Regions from separate parts of the Homo sapiens genome. Here all the other regions are linked to region 4. The links are contacts of gene promoters, found by promoter capture Hi-C in human tissues and cell types (Jung and others, 2019). All regions are on one chromosome and are shown on one strand. Each heading gives the region's core, a stretch centred on a gene start or on the middle of the fragment in contact. The rest is flanking DNA. Distances are from core to core; before and after follow the strand shown. Region 1 overlaps USP48 (ubiquitin specific peptidase 48). Region 2 overlaps USP48 (ubiquitin specific peptidase 48). Region 3 overlaps USP48 (ubiquitin specific peptidase 48). Region 4 holds the start of CELA3B (chymotrypsin like elastase 3B).

Region 1 (3,214 bases), core at 358-2,857, 230 kb before region 4:
TAAGCTGCCTCTAGAAATTTTTTATTTTTTTGGAAAGAGATAGAGTTTATAAAATAATTTCTACATTAAAAATTTCAGGTTGGGGGCAGTGGCTCACGCCTGTAATCCCAGCACTTAGGGAGGTCAAGGCAGGTGTCCCACTTGAGGCCAGGAGTTTGAGACCAGCTTGGCCAACACGGCAAAACCCTAAAGTGCAAAAATTAGCTGGGCTCCCTTGTAGCCTCCCAGCTACAAGGGAGGCTGAGGTTGCAGTGAGCTGAGATCGTGTCACTGCACTCCAGCCTAGGCAACAGAGCAAGACTCCGTCTCAAAAATACATACATACATACATAATATTTTATAAGTACTACAATCAACCTTAAAGGGAAGTAAAACAGTCCTTTCTCTAGTAAGACTCAACCTGTTTGGTAGGATGAAGACTACCAAAAGAAAAAAGCAGTACTTATTTCTTGTTAAAACAATGATAGCATCCTAGGGCGTATCAGTAGTTGCAGATATGAAAAATGAAAGCATAAATACTGGAATTATGCCACCTAATGTTTCTGGGACAACGTTTTTAAAAAAGTGAATAGAGGCGCTTGGAGACTGTTAGTTTTGAGAAATGATAAATAATAGTATTGAAACTAAGGTGGCAAGTGCGGGTTCAGAAACAGTAAAATACCTTTTTCATTTTTTACAAATTATTTTTATACCCTTAATTCTGTACATATCGATGAACCACCTCATCTTTGCTATATGCTTACTCACACAAAATGGAATTAACATCTTGGCTCTCCTAAAAAAGTCTTTGTTCCCAGACAGAGGTTCCCAGAGAGAGATTAGCAAACAAAAATTGGCAATTGACTGCTATTCTATATTAATCACAAGCCGATCACAAGTTAGAGTCTCTGAGCATTATAATGTTTACTCCTCAGTAAAAATATTACCTTTATGTTCCACATAAGGCTCCATATCCAAAATTTCTGAGAAGCCAATGTAGGTATTCAGCTTTTTCTTATGTCCAGTTTGCCTAACCAAGAGGAAAGCTGATTATATTTACATTTAAAACAATCATAATACAATATATAAGCTCTATTAGCTATTTTAATAAACTCAACAGTAGCTAGCTTTCACTTCACAATCTTCCTCCAAAACATGTACAATTAGAAGTAAACAGAATATTGTTTTATAGCTGGACAAATATGAGGTTAAAAAATGTGAATGCGAAGTGCTGATTCCAAACACAGCTTATTTTCCAGAAGTTTCAACTTAATCACAAAACAGATTATCCTGCTTTACAGAAGACATGCACATGTGCAAACATTGCCTTGATTTTAATTATAAAATGAAAAATACATTCCCATGGCGGGGGTGTAATGAGTACAAAATTTATTCTATTTAAAATAAAGGACAATACAGAAGGTCAGGGTAATTCAATTACTTGCAGTTTTTCTTTCTTTTTTTTTTTCCAAGACAGAGTTTCACTCTTGTTGCCCAGGCCGGAGTACAATGGTGCAATCTCGGCTCACTGCAACCTCCGCCTCCTGGGTTCAAGTGATTCTCCTGCCTCAGCCTCCCCAGTAGCTGGGATTACAGGCGCCTGCCACCACGCCCGGCTAATTTTTGTATTTTTAGTAGAGACGGGGTTTCACCATGTTGGCCCGGCTGATCTCGAACTCCTGACCTCAGGTGATCCACCTGCCTCAGCCTCCCAAAGTGCTGGGATTACAGGCGTGAGCCACCGCACCCGGCCCTTGCAGTTTTTAATACTTTCTTAGAATAAAAAAAGTAAGGATTTTTTACTTTTCTAGTTATCATTTATATATGGTTGGCTTCTTTAAAATTTTTTATGATAAAATCATGAAATATCGACATTTCAAAATGACAGCCTCCATCTATAACTTTCATCCTCAAATCTAGAGTTTCAAATTACAACCATTTTATCATCTCATCTATGGTAAAGTCTGTACATAGTAGACCACAATGAACAACAAACACTAATATTTGCACACATTTACCTGTCAAAGACAAAACGCATTAGCTGCAAGTTCAGAGTGCAAGGAAGGCTAAGAAGTCGAATCTTTCTTGTTGCATTCTGTTTGCTTTGACAGTTCTCGCAAAAATAGCGATTGTCTCCTTCTAATTTTTCTTCCTGATCAAGAATAAGACATATTAATTTTAAAAAGAAGATGGGTTTAAAACAAGTGATAAAACCCTTGATGTAAAGTATAATTTCATTTCAGTTAATAGCTCTCACTTAAGCTACTTAAAAACAGCTACTATAAATAATGGACACACAAAAGTAATGGGAACTGTTCAGCAGTGACATTATCAATTTGAATACACTGATATTTAAAACTGATGTGCCTATTTCCCAAATGTATGATATTAAAAATACTTGTTTTAGGTTCTTTGTCCTGGTAATCCCACTTCTGGGAATTCTAAAGTAAGTTTTAAAAAGAAATGTCACATGTATTTTGATGCAACATTCATTTAAAGACAGCAAAAAGGCTGGGCAACATGGCTCACGCCTGTAATCCCAACACTTTGGGAGGCCGAGGTGGGTGGATCACTTGAGGCCAGGAATTCGAGACCGGCCTGGCTGCCCAGGTGAAACCCCGTCTCTACTAAAAATACAAAAATTAGCCAGGCATGGTGGTACACACCTGTGGTCCCAACTACTCGGGAGGCTGAGACACAAGAATCACTTGAACCCGGGAGGTGGAGCTTGCAGTAAGCTGAGATCACACCTCTGCACTCCAGCCTGGAAACAAAGCGAGACTCTGTCTCAAAAAAATGAAGAAAAAAACAGGAGGGAGGAGGGTAGTGTAAAAACGATATATGGGCACCAGAATACAAAATTATATACATATTTGTTTAAAATTACTGAAACATATTCATGAGACAAAGCTAAAAAGAGACGTGTAGAAAAATCAAACATTTTAGCTGATAGTGGTTTCTTTTTAAAATTTGCCTTTATATTTCTATAAAGCTAATTGCAGCCAATCATAGCTAACCGAAGACTCAAACTCCTGAGCTCAAGCTTTTGTACCATATTGTACTTACCATATTGTAAGTAATGCAATACTGGTACCATCATCTCTTCACTTGGCTTCCAGGATACCACACTCACTGACTTGCCTCCTAATTCACTGGCATTCCTCCAGGGACTCCTGTGCCAGCTGCTCCTACCTCCCTGATCCCTAACATTTGAATGTCCCAGGCCTCAGTCCTT
Region 2 (3,239 bases), core at 415-2,914, 210 kb before region 4:
CGAGACTTCATCTCAAAAAAAAAAAAAAAAAAAAAAATTCACACGACCTGGCTGGGGAAACAGATACTCCCATGTGTCAAACACAGACATCATTCTCAGAAAATAGTTCCACTGGATCTGTTTAGATTTTAGTCTCCAGTTCCTGATAGCAAAATAATTCAGACAATGAAGAAAAGGTAGGCTCTCCCTGTCCCCACCCAAAAATCATGCATACTCAACTGGTTCTAAAGCTGGCATCAAAAGGCAAACACAACCTATGGCCTAAATATTACCACAATAAGACTTTCAAAAGCTACTATGAGAAGCTGGGAGCAATCTGTATTATTAGGCCCCACAACACTGGCATTGTTCTTTTTAAATTTTCTTAAATTAATTGCTTGCTAGGTATCACTGAATACGTCTTCAGTCGGCTAGAACACCACCACAGCAGAATGCCAAGTGCAGGTGACCTGTGATAGACTACCACCCCAGGCCAAACCTATGGCTCCCGAGCCTCTATGGCCACACTTCAGGTGGGAACCAAAAAGCCAATGGCGGTGCTTTGCATTAAAAGGGCTTGGGCTTTCTAAACTTCTAAATTGTTGCTAAGCCTTTCATACATAGCCCAATATGGGGGGGCGGGGTTGTGTTTGTTCTCTTACTTGGAGAGGTAAAGAATCTACTTAACAAACACAAATAACAGCTGGGCGCAGTGGCTCACGCCTATAATCCCAACACTTTGAGAGGCCAAGGCGGGCAGATCACCTGAGGTCGGGAGTTCGAGACCAGCCTGGCTGACATAGAGAAACCTCGTCTCTACTAAAAATACAAAAAATTAGCCAGGCGTGGTGGCACATGCCTGTAATTCCAGCTACTCAGGAGGCTGAGGCAGGAGAATCACTTGAACCCAGGAGGCAGAGGGTGCGGTGAGCCGAGATCATGCCATTGCACTCCAACCCTGGTAACTAGAGAGAAACTCTGTTTCAAGAAAAGGAAGGGAGGAAGGAAGGGAGGGAGGGAGGGAGGACGGATGGACAGGCAGACACAAATCACAGTTCTAATTATAAGCTGTTACTTCTAAAGCCAGCCTTAGCAGCACAGCAGAATGCCAACCACAGAGGGCTGTAGCCTCTCCCATTCGTCATTCTCCAATGCCCCTAACTCCATTTTATCCCTCCTTAGGAGTAGGCCCCAGGTATCAAGGATCATTTATCATCATGTGTGTGCCAATTTCCTTACAGTAGAAAAACAGTTATGTGTACCTGTGTCTATCAACTATCAAAACAGATCAAGGAGGTTGAGTGTTTCACAAAATATGAGACAGTGTCTGGGAGCAGTGGTTCACACCTGTAGTCCCAGCAATTTGCAAGGCTGAGGCAGGCAGATCACTTGAGGCCAGGAATTTGACACCAGCCAGGCCAATATGGCGAAAACCCATCTTTACTAAAAATACAAAAAATTAGCCAGGTGTGGTGGCATATGCCTATAGTCCCAGCTGCTCAGGAAGCTGAGACAAGAGAATTGCTTGAACCCGGGAGGCAGAGGCTGCAGTGAGCTGAGATCACGCCACTGCACTCCAGCCTGGGCATCAGAGAGAGACCCTGTCTCCAAAAAAAAAAAAAAGCCTGGGCGCAGTGGGAGGCCGAGGCTGGTGGATTATGAGGTCAGGAGTTCAAGACCAACCTGGCCAAGATGGTGAAACCCTGACTCTACTAAAAATACAAAACTTAGCCAGGTATGGTGGCAGGTGCTTGTAATCCCAGCTACTCTGGAGGCTGAGGCAGAGAACTGCTTGAACCCGGGAGGCGGAGGTTGCAGTGAGCCGAGATCGTGATTGTGCCACCCCACACCAGCCTGGGTGACAGAGTGGCACTCCGTCTCAAAAAAAAAAAAAAAAAAAGACTTGATTACATAGGCATGACTGATTGAATCACTGGCCACTGGAGATTAGCAACCTTTAGTCCTCTCCCCTCCCAGAGGTCAGACTAAAAAGTTCTAAACCTCTCATCGTGGTTGGTTCTCCTGGCAACCAGCCCATGTGGAGGCTACCAAGAGCTCCCAGCCATCAGTCATTTCATTAGCATACAAAAAGACACTTAGTCACTTCAGAGATCCCAAAGGTTTTAGGAGCTGTGCCAGAAGTAGTACAAAGACTAAGCATATATTTCTTATAAATCAAAATATCATATAACCCTGCAGGAAAAATAACTAAAGAAAACATCTCAAAAATGTTAAATGACAACAATGTTTTTGTTTCAATAATTCTACTTCTGGGCACAGGTCCACCAAACTTGAGTAATAACAGCACAATGGCAATGCCATAGTACGATAAGGAATTCAGATAATTTAATGGGTACTTTGTTCCAAGACTGCACTGTATGAGAACACCAACGTGTTAGGCAGAGGATAGGTTCCAAAAGGTTTGGTTATGACGTACTAAGCAGACATCTGCTGTGATTTTAGGCCAGGGACACACTTTGGCAGCAGTAAACAGGACAGACCGGGCGGGGTGTGGTAGCTCATGCCTGTAATCCCAGCATTTTGGGAGGTCGAGGCAGGCGGATCACTTGAGGTCAGGAGTTTGAGACCAGCCTGGCTAATATGGTGAAACCCCGTTCTCTACTAAAAATTCAAAAATGTGCCAGGCATGGTGGCACGCGCCTGTAGTCCCACCTACTCCAGAGACTGAGGCAGAAGGCTCGCTTGAACCCGGGAGGCGGAGGTTGCAGTGAGCCGAGATCACGCCACTGCACTCAAGTCTGGGTGACAGAGCGAGACTCTGTCAAAAAAAAAAAGGGGGGGACAGCCCGAAGCTGAACAAGGCATGAGACGTTCCGAAGCTAAACAAGGTGTGAGACATAACTAACAATTTTTCTAGTGGAAGATGAGGTCTTAAAAAGCCAATTTAGGCCGGGTGTGGTGGCTCACACCCGTAATCCTAGCCCTTTGGAAGGCTGAGGTGAGTGGATCACCTGAGACAGGAGAATAGTTTGAAACTACGAAGCCGAGGTTGCAGTTAGCCGAGATCCCATGGTGCTCCGGCCTGGGCAACAAAGTGAGACTCCATCTCCAAAAAAAAAAAAAAAAAAAAAAAAAAAAAAAAAAAAGGCAATTCAGTGGGAATAGGAATGGAGGAAGTTCAAGCATATTGATGGGAAGAAATCAATAGAACTGGGGACTAATAAGATGCAACAGGCAAGAAAGGAAAGGAGAAATCTGGAATGATGCCCAAAATTGTAACAAAAAGATTTTCCAGGCTG
Region 3 (3,078 bases), core at 200-2,699, 250 kb before region 4:
AAGCTATGTGAAGCATTTTGAGCTTTTTGGAAGAAAAGAGATATGGAAAAGTTAATTATACATTTACGTAAACTTAATATATAAAAGAGGAGACCTTGGCTGGGCATGGTGGCTCACGCCTGTAATCCTAGCACTTTGGGAGGCCGAGGCGGGCAGATCACCTGAGGTCCAGAGTTTGAGACCAGCCTGACCAACAGGGAGAAACCCCGTCTGTACTAAAAATACAAAAAATTAGCTGGGCATGGCGGCACACGACTGTAATACCAGCTATTCGGGAGGCTGAGGCAGGAGAATCACTTGAACCCGGGACGCGGAGGTTGTGGTGAGCTGACATTGCACCAGTGCGCTCTAGCCTGGGCAACAAGAGTGAAATTCCATCTCAAAAAAAAAAAAGAGGAGACTTTAAGATGCAGTATATGTAACACAGCTGCAGCACTTTACAGTATATCATGGTATGGCTAATTACATTCAAAATGCCTCCCGACTTTATTTGCCATTTATCAAGCTTAATCTGCCAGGGATAGAGTACACTGGGTATCTGGGGAATGCAAAGATAAATGATCCCTTTCTGAAAGCAAGATCAAAGTCTTAGCATACTCTCATCTTTTCCCAAGGACAGTCAATTAGATTAAAATGGTAAGCAATATGAAGGCTATCAAAGGAGAAAAAACAGGATTGTGATAAAGAGCAACATTCAAGAATAAGTCACTAGGCATCCTAGTTTCCCCAGCAGCTGGGGAGGAGTGGACAGACAGCAGTATCTGTTATTGCTAACTGAAAGAAAACACCCTAAGAATCCTGGCCCTCACAATGAAAGGAATCTAGGAAAGCTCAAAATGCACAAAGCCCTCCTTGCCAGGGGATGTCTGCAGGAATTCAAAGCCTAGGGTGACTGTGGCCCTGACTGTCCAGCAACAATGTGGCTCAAAGGCAAGACAACATTTTCCAATCTCACAGAAAACTTCCAAGGAAAGCTTGTTGTTTTGGTTTTTGAATTGTTCAATATAAATTTAATGTAAGATACAATGATTAGAAAAACTATGTACGGTTTTATAGTAAGAGGAGGAAGACAGAAAGCAGAGAACAGGCCTATAATTCTAATCTAATACCATGCTTACTACTAACAGCAAGTTCTCCAGATTTCACTTTAGTGCGCTGTGGGCTCCATGAAGGAAGAGTGACTATGGTCACAGAAGTCTGTCTTTCTTTCCATTTTCAGTCTCTATCATCATAAAGAGTTGCACTGACTCTGCCAAGAGCTTGCCTGAGAATACAAGTGGAGCACAAGTCTCATAGTTAAGGCAGATTCTGTTTGTGGCAAAGTTTTTACACTACAGATGTTTCTGCACTAGAAAAAGACTCTAAGTAGGCCCCTCAAATATATTCCCTAGTATTTGTGATTCAGTAAACTACAAGCATTGCTTTCCAAAGGCCATGGACATAATCAACTCCAAATGAGGGAGAACTCTCCTATTATCAAGCTGGAGATACCGGACTATATGAAACCTCAGCATTTGATGAGGAAAGCAAAATATTAAAATATTTACCACAGGGAAATATACATTTTGGTTCAAAGTTCTTTAAAAAGAAAAAAAAAAACCTGGATTTTGAACATGACACATTTTCTTTGGAAAGTTATAAAGTCTAGAACAATCACAGCATCAAAAACATCTGAAACACTTTACCTAGAGATAATTTAAGTATATTTCAATGGAAATAAAAAGGGCCAAAAGCACGTTCCTACTGAGGCTTAGATTTTAGGGTAAGTGATCTTTGTTTTTTTAAATATGTTCACACACAAAAATAAGATTTAGAAAATGCATAACAAAAGACTTCTCTTGCCAGCACAAAACCATGCTCATTAACTTTGAGATTCTACATAATTTTACAGCGTGGACTGTCTACAATATAAGTTTACTGCAAATGGAAAAGAATTATATAGCTCATAATTGGTAAAAGTATAAATAACACAGAGAAATACTCTAAGAACATAAGCATATTCTAAGAACATAAGGTTCCTATATGCTGAATGAAAACAGCCAAAGGAAGCACAGTGCTAACTTGACACATAACATCTTTGAACTCTATAGTTCTAAAGAGTGGTTCAAATGAGTATTTCACTTTAGACCCAGTTAAGTCCCTTTCTCTTGCCCAGTGGACACAGGAAACCGTGAATAAAGTTTGGAAAATAGATTTCTAGGTCCCAACACCTTTGAACAAAGACCTATAAATTTAGAGATCTGAATCATGGGTTCATTTCCAAATCATTTCCAGTTACATTAAGGTCAGTTTAATTATTTAGGGTAATCCCAACCCTTGGACAGAGTTAAAGTAACAGATTACAAAGAAGGGTCAGAATTGAATTAAAATTTAGTTAAAATATATTCTTATAGACTTGGCAATTTTTGTTTACATTTTGCTTAAAGTTATACTAGTAATGGAAAATTAAGATATTAAAAAGACAAACCACAAGTACAATTATGCTTAAGTATTTATTTTCTAAAGTAAGGACTAAATTGTCTCTCTTCCTTAAGTAGGAATTAGGCTTGGGGAATTCATGTCTTTAAAATGACAAAGATAACTTAATACAAATGGCACATCAGCCTTTAAAAAGGCTTAATTTGGTTTCATTTTGAGACATCAGGTAAACCTGAATAAACATATACAGAAAAGGGATAAGCTGGATTATGTGGGATATTTCTAAGAAATCAGGGGTCAGCAGAAAGCTTTTCTACTCTTAGCATAATATTTGGTATTAAACTTCAAGTTAATCTAATAGTATCAAAAAAACTGTATTCATATAATAGAATGTCTGTTAAAACTGTTAGGTCACAAAGTATGCAAAGAAACAGAACAGGCAAGTTGCTTTTTCCATAGTAATCCAATCGGATTTTTCTTAAACAAGTTAATATCTCACAAAATATAAATATCTACAATACTCATGGATGCAGAGTGCTGACCTAAATGTTATAATTTATTAACAGCTTCCCATTTTTAGGAGTACAACGTAATGAAATAATATGGAATGCTACACATCAAGTTATTGTTGGTTTACAAAGTACTTTTAGAGTGTTTAAG
Region 4 (3,020 bases), core at 299-2,798:
GGGGCTGCGGCAAACAATCTCATCCACACCTCCTGGAGCACATGCCTAAGGTTTTCTCACGGTGTAGACCTAGGAGGGAAACCGCTGGATCACCTGTGAATTCCACTTTCGGGGTTGCCTGCTCTTTGACCTCATCTCCCACCCCTCTCTACTTTGACTACCAAGCTCCTGTCACACTGGCCTCCCTTTCCTTGAACAAGCCAAGCCCATTGCAGCCTCCAGAACTTCGCACCTGCTGTCGCCTCCCTTCAGAACGCGTTTCTTTCAGGGATTCCCGTTGCTGGCTTTTACTTATCCTCAGGACTCCATCAGATATGACCTCCTCAGCCCAAATGTCACTTTCTCTGTCCCCCTCATCTAAATGACTTACTCCATTCCTACCCCAATCACCCATTTTCATTTTCTTTTTTTTTTTTTGACACGGAGTCTCGCTGTCGCCCAGGCTGGAGTGCAGGGGCGCCATCTTGGCTCACTGCAGGCTCTGCCCCCTGGGGTTCACGCCATTCTCTTGCCTCACTCTCCTGAGTAGCTGGGGCTACAGGCGCCCGCCACCTCGCCCGGCTAACATTTTGTATTTTTAGTGGAGACGGGGTTTCACCGTGTTAGCCAGGATGGTGTCGATCTCCTGACCTCGTGATCCACCCACCTCAGCCTCCCAAAGTGCTGGGATTACAGGCGTGAGCCACCGTGCCCGCCCCATTTTCTTTTCTGTTTTGTTTGTTTGTTTGTTTGTTTTTGAGACAGTCTTGCTCTGTGGCCCAGGCAGGAGTGCAGTGGCATGATCTCGGCTCACTGCAACCTCTGCCTCCCTGCCTCCTGGGTTCAAATGATTCTCCTCCCTCAGGCTCACAGTAGCTAGGATTACCGGTGCTGGGATTATAGGTGCCCACCACCACGCCTGCTAATTTTTGTAGTTTTAGTAGAGATAAGGTTTCACCATGTTTCAAACTTCTGACCTCAATTGATCCTCCCACCTTGGCCTCCCAAAGCGCTGGGATCACAGGTGTGAGCCACCGCTCCTGGCCTAGACTCAAACTCTAGAAGGGCTGAGACCATGTATTTTTCACAGCTGTATCCCCTAGAACAGTGCCTGATACATAGAGAAAAAGTGCTCAACAAAAAATTTTTTGTGGAGGTGGGTACTAATATAAATCTCATGTTAGAGAGCAGAAAACTGAGACTCAGAGAGGTTAAGCCATGCGCCCAAAGTCGCAGAGCTTGGAGGTGGCAGAACCAGGATTGAACCGTGGTCTGCCCGGTTCCAGTGCCCCTGTTCTTTCCGAAAGAGGAGGTCTTGTCCTGACATGAGCTTTTCTTCCTGAACTCTTGTTATCAGTTGGCCACTCCACACCACCTGTGCGGCCACCTGTTGGAGGGAACGCTAGGTCCTTCCTTTGGCTGTCACTCCTCCATCTGCAGTGAGTGAGAACTGTGGCCTTGGACCATGGGAGACCTGCATTTCCACCACCTGTTCTGGGAGTGGGGCCCAGTCAGCCCCCTTTGCTTACCTTCTGCCCTATATTAGAGCCCCAGGTTCTGTGCCCTTTTCCTATCATCGCAAAACTCATGATGCTCCGGCTGCTCAGTTCCCTCCTCCTTGTGGCCGTTGGTAAGACCCCAACCTGTGTGTGTGCTCCCTGGGCTGCCCTAGATTAGGAATCCTTGAAATCTACCACTTGCTCTAAGTCCCATGACACCCTATGCCTGGTTCCACAGGAGGGGGTCTCAGCTTGTACCCGGGGGCATGACTGTGGGGGCTTTCAGCTTATGATGGAGCAGGAGAGTGGAGGGGAAGCCGTGGATGGAGAAAGACCCCAAAGGGCTGTGGTGGAAGTCCTTGATGGGGGCAGTAAACAAAGTCAAACGGTTAAGAGTTTGGGCTGTGTGGTTGGACTTCTTGGGTTGGAATTTCCACTGTTCTGCTTACCACTCCAACTCTCCTCTCACACTCCCCCTACCTGGCTCCATATTCTATGCTCTGGCCTTTTCCTGGTCTCTCTGCCATATTACATTCCAGCTCAGGGCCACCTCTTCCAAGCAGCCTCCCTTGACTGACAATAATGGTAACAGATAACATTGATTGAGTGCTTACTATGCCAGGCAGAATGTTTAGGGTTTTCCTTATACTTTCTCATGTAATTCTCACAACAGCCTCAGGAGATCAGTACTATCATTTTCCCCATTTTACCGACCCTCAAGGAAGTAAAGTAGCTTATCATAGAACAAAAGGCAGAGCTGCACTTAATGTTTTTATTTTTTGCTTTTTTTTTTGTTGAGATGGGGTCTTGCTTTGTTGCCCAGACTGGTCTCAAAATCTTGGCCTCAAGCAATCCTACCACCTTAGCCTCCTGAGTAGCTGAGATTATAGGCACATGCCACCATACCTGGCTACTTTATTTTATTGTACTTTATTTTTCTAGAGATGAGGTCTTGCTATGTTGCCCAGGCTGGTCTCAAACTCCCGGGCTCAAGCGATCCTCCCGCCTCGGCCTCTCAAAGCACTAGGATTACAGGTGTGAACCACCACACACAGCCCAGAGCTGCACTTTGAACCCAGGAAGTCCTTCTTTAAAGCCTCCACTCTGTATGACAATAGCTCTCACTTTTTGAGGGCTCATTGAGGGCCAGGCATTGTTCTAAGTGTATCAAGCTCTTCAATCCTCCCAATGAAGGAGGCCACATTTGAATCTCTATCCCTGGAGTCTTGGGATTCTGGAAAGCCCTGCTCTAGTTTAAATGTTCACTATTCATATGTGGTTACTGAGGTCCAGAGGGCGAAAGGGGCTTGCATGGGGTCACACAGCCACTTGAAGGCACGGCTTGGACTGGGACCCTGGCCTCCTCTTTGCTTTTGGGGACCCTCCCGCTGATTGACAGCTCTCCTCTCCCCTCTAGCCTCAGGCTATGGCCCACCTTCCTCTCGCCCTTCCAGCCGCGTTGTCAATGGTGAGGATGCGGTCCCCTACAGCTGGCCCTGGCAGGTAAGAGCAATAGCAGCTGCCCTCATTCCCACCGTGGGC

The links. The method cuts DNA at HindIII sites, captures the fragments that hold promoters and counts their contacts. A contact is called where the count stands out against the background at its distance.
Region 1: a fragment that was not itself captured here is called in contact with the fragment with the promoter of CELA3B in region 4 in 2 of the 25 tissues and cell types used here (H1 embryonic stem cells and dorsolateral prefrontal cortex).
Region 2: a fragment that was not itself captured here is called in contact with the fragment with the promoter of CELA3B in region 4 in 1 of the 25 tissues and cell types used here (bladder).
Region 3: a fragment that was not itself captured here is called in contact with the fragment with the promoter of CELA3B in region 4 in 2 of the 25 tissues and cell types used here (H1 embryonic stem cells and mesendoderm cells).

Annotation. Positions count from the first base shown.
Region 1 is chr1:21,746,141-21,749,354 of GRCh38, forward strand. USP48 (ubiquitin specific peptidase 48) reads right to left here. Exons shown (of 27, transcript NM_032236.8): 7 at 1,998-2,131; 8 at 927-1,009. Among named protein-coding and RNA genes, the nearest start is that of USP48, 35 kb to the right of the region's middle. The HindIII fragment of the contact is 4,676 bases long and covers 1-3,214 here.
Region 2 is chr1:21,762,852-21,766,090 of GRCh38, forward strand. All of the region lies in intron 1 of USP48 (ubiquitin specific peptidase 48), which reads right to left. Among named protein-coding and RNA genes, the nearest start is that of USP48, 19 kb to the right of the region's middle. The HindIII fragment of the contact is 8,017 bases long and covers 1-3,239 here.
Region 3 is chr1:21,725,373-21,728,450 of GRCh38, forward strand. The region is part of intron 11 of USP48 (ubiquitin specific peptidase 48); the gene reads right to left. Among named protein-coding and RNA genes, the nearest start is that of USP48, 56 kb to the right of the region's middle. The HindIII fragment of the contact is 3,775 bases long and covers 1-3,078 here.
Region 4 is chr1:21,975,474-21,978,493 of GRCh38, forward strand. CELA3B (chymotrypsin like elastase 3B) reads left to right here and starts at 1,549. Exons shown (of 8, transcript NM_007352.4): 1 at 1,549-1,609; 2 at 2,896-2,981. The coding sequence starts at 1,567. The HindIII fragment of the contact is 22,565 bases long and covers 1-3,020 here.